2 separate regions of the Homo sapiens genome follow, and region 2 is linked to region 1. The links are contacts of gene promoters, found by promoter capture Hi-C in human tissues and cell types (Jung and others, 2019). All regions are on one chromosome and are shown on one strand. Each heading gives the region's core, a stretch centred on a gene start or on the middle of the fragment in contact. The rest is flanking DNA. Distances are from core to core; before and after follow the strand shown. Region 1 holds the start of GNPAT (glyceronephosphate O-acyltransferase). Region 2 overlaps C1orf198 (chromosome 1 open reading frame 198).

Region 1 (2,930 bases), core at 79-2,578:
CCTTCAGAGCTCCTACCATGATTTCCAGCCTGTGTTGACATGAACTATATTATTTTGCAGAATAGTCTTTTCCTCTAGATTTTAAACTTCTCAAGGTCAGAGACTAAGTCTTCTCTGTCCTCCAATATGTCCAAGGGCACAGAAATGCTAGTTAATACAAGCATGGGGTCTGGGGCTAGAATCAGAACCCAGGCTCTGCAAAAATTACCAGTCAGACAACCTGCATCAGGTTTCATGAACTTCTAGTACTTGTTTCTACATCTGCAATCATGGATTTATGACAGTGTCTATTTCATGAAGTTGAAAATTAAATGAGCAAATACACGAAAAGCATGTGCTATATGGCAAGTTCTCAACAGTTTTAACTATTATTCCTACTGTTTAGGTGAACTTAGAATTTTGAGCAGTCATTCCAAAATAAAAATAGCTTTTAAAATATCACGCTGTAAATTTAAGAAATGTGTGTTGTCCTGAAATCTAATGATTTTCTTTGGTGCATGTGCAAAGGGTGTCACCTTCTCCCGGGAAAGCTCTTCAGAGTATGAGGCACTGTCTTCCTACTGACATGCCATGCGACTTTAATAGGCTCTTTTATTTTCCTTTTCCCCCATCAAGACAAAGAACGGAGAGTAAAAGATCAGCGCACTTGTTTAAAAAAAAAAAAGTCGTGAAAAGGACAACTCGCCAAGGACTATGATGTCTCTGGAGAGGGACACACAAGGATGAAGCTGGTGTATTATCCAACAGGCCCGAGGCCCCAGAGCGAAATGACACCATCGCACCAGGGTCAGGCAGGTCTTGGGGGTGGCATGGGGAAAGGGGACTTCCCAGGGCTCAAGAAAACGTGGAAAAGCGGGCTACTTTTAAATCGGAAAGCCTTGGTGCTTCCTACAAGCAAGTAGGATGGTCCCCACACTTGGGGACGAGTTGGAAGGTTTGATGAATAACTCAGCAGAGCCCGGTCGAGGGGTGACTTCCGATGGAGAAATGTGTTCGCTACTGGAACCAGGTGGGACGAAGGGTGCTTGACATGCAAGAACCTTTAGCCTCAAAGCAGAGGCCAACCCAGGACGGGCAACACAGGAGACCCACGTTCCTCAAATCTGTTCTCCACGTGGGCTCCTGGGACCCCGCACTCACCAAAGTCGTAAAGGTTCTGGAGCAGAGCGTCAAGAAGTGTCGGAGAACTGGGAGGCGTGGAGGACCCCGGCCCTTGCTCCTGCGACATTGTGGGGTCAGCCGAGGAATCAACCCTCATTCTGCCGCGCTGCACCCCCGCTTCCGGGTTCCGCGACTGCGCGCATGCGCTGCAGGGCCCTGCGCGGCTTCCGTCCTGGCTGAGATGGCGGCGCCCGGGATCCTGTGTAGCGGCTGCAGAGGGTGCCGCCGCCCTAGGCGAAGTAGGGCCGTCCTGAGCGAAAGAACCGCCCCCAGCAGGAGCACCACCACGGCTTAGCAAAGAATCCCAGACCCCGCCCGGGAAGGCAGCCGCACCATGGAGTCTTCCAGTTCATCTAACTCTTATTTCTCCGTTGGCCCAACCAGTCCCAGCGCTGTCGTGCTCCTCTACTCGGTAGGCGCCCAGGGAAAAGAGGCCCAGAGCGGAGCCGCGCGAAATAGTACCCCTTTCTCCCAGTCCCTATTCCTCCGGCCCACCACCCTTGCCCAAAAGAGCTGGCCCCTAGGCTCCCGAGGAGGGGTTAGTTGGTTGGATTGGTTTCCAGGACAACAGTGTATCGCTGTGTGTCTGTGTGTGCATGCTTTTGGAAGTTTCTACGGATTATGGTTCCTTTGGTTCCTTTCCACTTTTTCCTTCTCTTTCTTTCTATCAGGCCCTGGGGCCTTCAGAAAGCTCCTGGACACGAGAATGAGGAATGAGAATTGGAGTCTCCCCATCTCTAGCGAGGGCATGTCGAGCTACCTTTTGGGCAAACCTGAGAAACTTGCGGGTTTGACCCGCCCTGAGATAGCCTGTGGCTCCGCACCCCGCCCTATGCTGCTGTTATATTCCTGGGAGTAGAGCACTTGGCTTGTATGTGGGAATAGAGTTTTAAACACTTCAGGAAAATTTAGAACTTCTAGACATTTTTATTGCCTGTTCTTGTCTTCCAGTCATTATTGTACCTTTTCCACAAATCATTTTGGAGGACAGCCAGCGCCACCCAGCTTCTCTCCCGCTTGTCTTTTTTTCCTCCAACCCCCTCTTCCTCTCTTGGTTTTAACGGGTCTTTTTGGCTGGCAGATGTTGGTCACCCACGATTTTCATGAAGAAATTATGAGATGGGAGCTTTATAGCCTTCAGGATTGCACAGACCTGGGGCAACTGGTTTGGTTTTTGTTTGTTTCTTGTTGTTTTTAACCACTAAATTAGTTTTTAGCTACTTTAGGAGAAAATGAAAGAATTCATTTTAAAAGCATATTAGCATATCCTGGTGATTACTGTCCAATTTTGGCTTAAATGTAGTGTTCATTTGTGCAGAAAGGTCAAAACAGGGATAACACAGCAGAGCAAGATAAACACCCCAGTTTTGAAAGAGAATATATGGGTTCCTTCAAATTGAGACACCAATATTCTTTGGAACATGGAGAAACTTCTGTTCCCTCTCTATCAAGACCTTTCGGTTTCTGATTGCTAACTGCCTATAAGCCTTATTATTTAGATATATCTCTTCATTGATCTTATCTTCCCCACAGTTCTGTGGTGGATATCAACTTTGTTTTCTGACTCTGCTACTCCAGAGCAGGCACGAAGGGAAGAGGGTTGCTGTGCAGATCCAGCTTTTAACATGTAGCTTTTTAAGCTCCCAACTGGTTTGTGAATTGGTTGGAATTTTCCTTTTGTACATTAAAGGAAGGAGTTGGTTTTGTTTGTTTGTTTGTTTGTTTTACTTCCCCTTTACCAACGGTTCTTTAATAAGACTTGAGTCCAC
Region 2 (2,929 bases), core at 346-2,845, 400 kb before region 1:
GAATGGGAGGAAAATCATGGCAAATGGAGAGCTAAGAAACCATCTTCGCATAGACTTTGCCCAAGGTGTAGAGGAAGATCTGCCGGTCAGGCAGGATGAAGACCCACACAGGAGCCTGTGTCCTCCAGGTCGTCCCTTCTTCCAAAAGCACAGCAAAGCAATACAACTTGAGGACTCCCTCCAAGATTTCCTAATTTTTGATTTTACATTTAATCTCAGGAGGCTATACCATTAAGAAACATTATTAGAGTTATTGCTGGGTGCTGGGCCCCAGACGATACTAAGTGAGGCAGAAGCTTTCAATAATTCCTACAGCCCTCAGCACCAAGAAGAACTTGGAGGGAATATTGGGCTTGTTGAGAAAGTGGGAAAGAAATTAGAATTTCTCCCAATAGAAGAGGCAGATCACCTTGGCCTACTCTCTAGGACACAGGTCTTTCTTCTGTGCTACACCAACACTACAGAATACAAACTCATACATATACATTTGCTACCATAGGTTCTACAACAGCCCCATGCCCTCCAGGCAGAAGGTGGAGGCAGGTGGCCGCTGATTCTGAGGATCCCTGTGTGAACAGTGCCGTTAGCCCTGAGGGGAGCTGGCGCTTGCCCAGGCTGTGCCAACTGGGATTTCTAAGCTCCTTTTTCCCTCACCACCATGCTGAAACCTTTTTTTGCCTCACATATATCAACTATACTTAAATGGTACAGAAAGAACCAATATTTGAAAAGTTACAGTAAATCACTGAAGCAGAAAGATAAAACTATACCCCAAGGATCCAAATGAGGTTTAGGGACATAAAACAATTGGCAAGAACCAAATCAAAAGTTGGCTATGCCACAGCTTTGGCAGAAACTTTCCTGGAGATGATGAGGGGTTGAGGTGAGTTGCTATGTGCTTTATTTTGGAGCCAGATAAAATATTCTGGAAATCATTTCAGAAGGTCCTATGAAACAGGCATTTAAAAAAAAAAAAAAAAGAAGAAGACACACTTTGGTATTGAAACCGAGCGCTCACTGGCAGGTGTCGCAAAGATTAAGGCTTCAGGTGAGAACGCAGTGATGGCAACATGGAGATGGCGCCATACCGGGCTTGAGGCTCTGCTCAGACGCCTCCTGCAGGCTCACACGGCTCAGGGGCCACTGGGCAGGACAGCCTCTGAGTGCAGCAGCTTCCCTAGGGGAGGTGGACCACGTTGTACCACTGGGCAGCCTTGGTGTCTGCACCAGCTCCAAGAGATACTGCTGCTCTGACACCACGCAGGTCTCCATGGGCACTGCTGAGTTGACCGCAAACTCCACTCTTCCACTTCTGGTGGTGGTCAGGGCTGGGGAAGGTCCGTCATGACGCAACCTGGCTAGCCCTTGGGATAAAGAATGCCCACTGCTCCCATCAGTCCCATGCTGGAAGACTCTAACACAACTAAGCAGAAGAGCCCTGACCTCCAGCCACATCTGCCGTCTGCCCTGACTCCTGTAGGTGCCCAGTCCGGGGAACAACCAACAGGTCACATAAGCAACAAGAACTTCCAAGAGGAAATGGATATAAAACCAAGGAAAGTGGTAGCCCCATTGTTGATAATCTAGATACAAAATAATGAAAAGCTAGTACAAAACTCTTTAAACATGCAACTCTTTTTAAACAACAATCCATACTCTGAATATGTATCAGAGCAGGTTAAAGACTACACTGCTACATACCCGCAGTCTGTTCCCTGGAAATGGCGTGAGGGTGGAGGCTGGCACATGATGTGAGAGACATGGCTTCTGCCAGAGAAGCCCCGGACAGCTGCGAGCGCTGGCTGAGAACGTCGCTGGGGGCCAGTCTTTCCGGGGTCACAGCCAGCATGCTGATGTCATGGCTGATAACATCACCCTCAATCACCCACCAAAAGGAACCCATACGGTAAAAAGCGGAGGGGGGAGGGGGAATAATGGAGAAGGAGATGGAAATCACTTATATGATTTTTGTGACATGGTTGAAACACATCCTTTGAGGAGGGGGAAAGTTGGGTGGAGCTGGGAACAGAAGTTTTATTTACAAGATCTCCTGAATTATTAACAGACCTTAAAAATTCCAAATGGAAAACTTCTGTTATCAAATCACTGAAAATAGCATATATATCTGGTTCTACCAAAAAAGAAAAAAATCTGGCAATATTGACCAGTTTCCAAATGATTAAGAAAAGAGTGTCAAGAAACCAGTAAAATACATAGGAAAAGGTGGCCCTTTTTATCCTCCTCCACCACACCACTTTGGAAAACATTTTAGGGTTCTTCATTGTATTTTTCTAATACATTTTACCAATTGTCCAGAAAATCAAATCCCGTCTTCAAGACGACATTACTTGAGCTGACCTGTAGAAGGGACAAAAACATGGAAGTAAGACGAGCCTCTTTTTTTCAGTTACGTATAATCTAAAAACAGCATCTCATTTAAAACGACCCAGATAAAAGAGCCTACTTCTGTCTCAGAGGTTCCCTGACCTCAATTTATCTCAGTGCTTGAAATCAGAAGATTAAATACAGTTCAATGCAATCTATACTCTGCCAGCATCCAACACTAACCCCTCTTCAACCCCAGGCATGTCTGTGAGCAGCTTACAGACCTTACAGAGAAAAGAACAATGTCTCTGTATTTTTCTATAAATCTTTTCTGTTTCTGAATGACAGCCATGTTTAAATTTATTCATCCTAAATAAGAGAACAAATGATAAAGATATTCCTTCAAATATAAAACAAACATCACACACAAACACAACAAAAAAGAACTTGTAAAGTTGAGAAAGTAAACATAGTGTGGAAAGAATGTGAAGCTTATTTCTTTCAGATCTTGTGAAAGGTTATGAAGTGATTTTCCCAAACTCTAAGCTCAGCCTCCGGGGCTCAAGCGATCCTCTTGCCTCGGCCTCCCACGTAGCTGGGACTA

Evidence for each region. The method cuts DNA at HindIII sites, captures the fragments that hold promoters and counts their contacts. A contact is called where the count stands out against the background at its distance.
Region 2: a fragment that was not itself captured here is called in contact with the fragment with the promoter of GNPAT in region 1 in 3 of the 25 tissues and cell types used here (dorsolateral prefrontal cortex, pancreas and psoas muscle).

Annotation. Positions count from the first base shown.
Region 1 is chr1:231,239,884-231,242,813 of GRCh38, forward strand. GNPAT (glyceronephosphate O-acyltransferase) reads left to right here and starts at 1,329. Exons shown (of 16, transcript NM_014236.4): 1 at 1,329-1,573. The coding sequence starts at 1,496. FSAF1 (40S small subunit processome assembly factor 1) reads right to left here and starts at 1,292. Exons shown (of 7, transcript NM_152379.4): 1 at 1,141-1,292. The coding sequence starts at 1,258. RefSeq lists enhancers at 1,022-1,361, 1,342-2,231. The HindIII fragment of the contact is 11,594 bases long and covers 1-2,930 here.
Region 2 is chr1:230,837,551-230,840,479 of GRCh38, forward strand. C1orf198 (chromosome 1 open reading frame 198) reads right to left here. Exons shown (of 4, transcript NM_032800.3): 4 at 1-2,358. The coding sequence ends at 2,302. Among named protein-coding and RNA genes, the nearest start is that of C1orf198, 30 kb to the right of the region's middle. The HindIII fragment of the contact is 5,884 bases long and covers 1-2,929 here.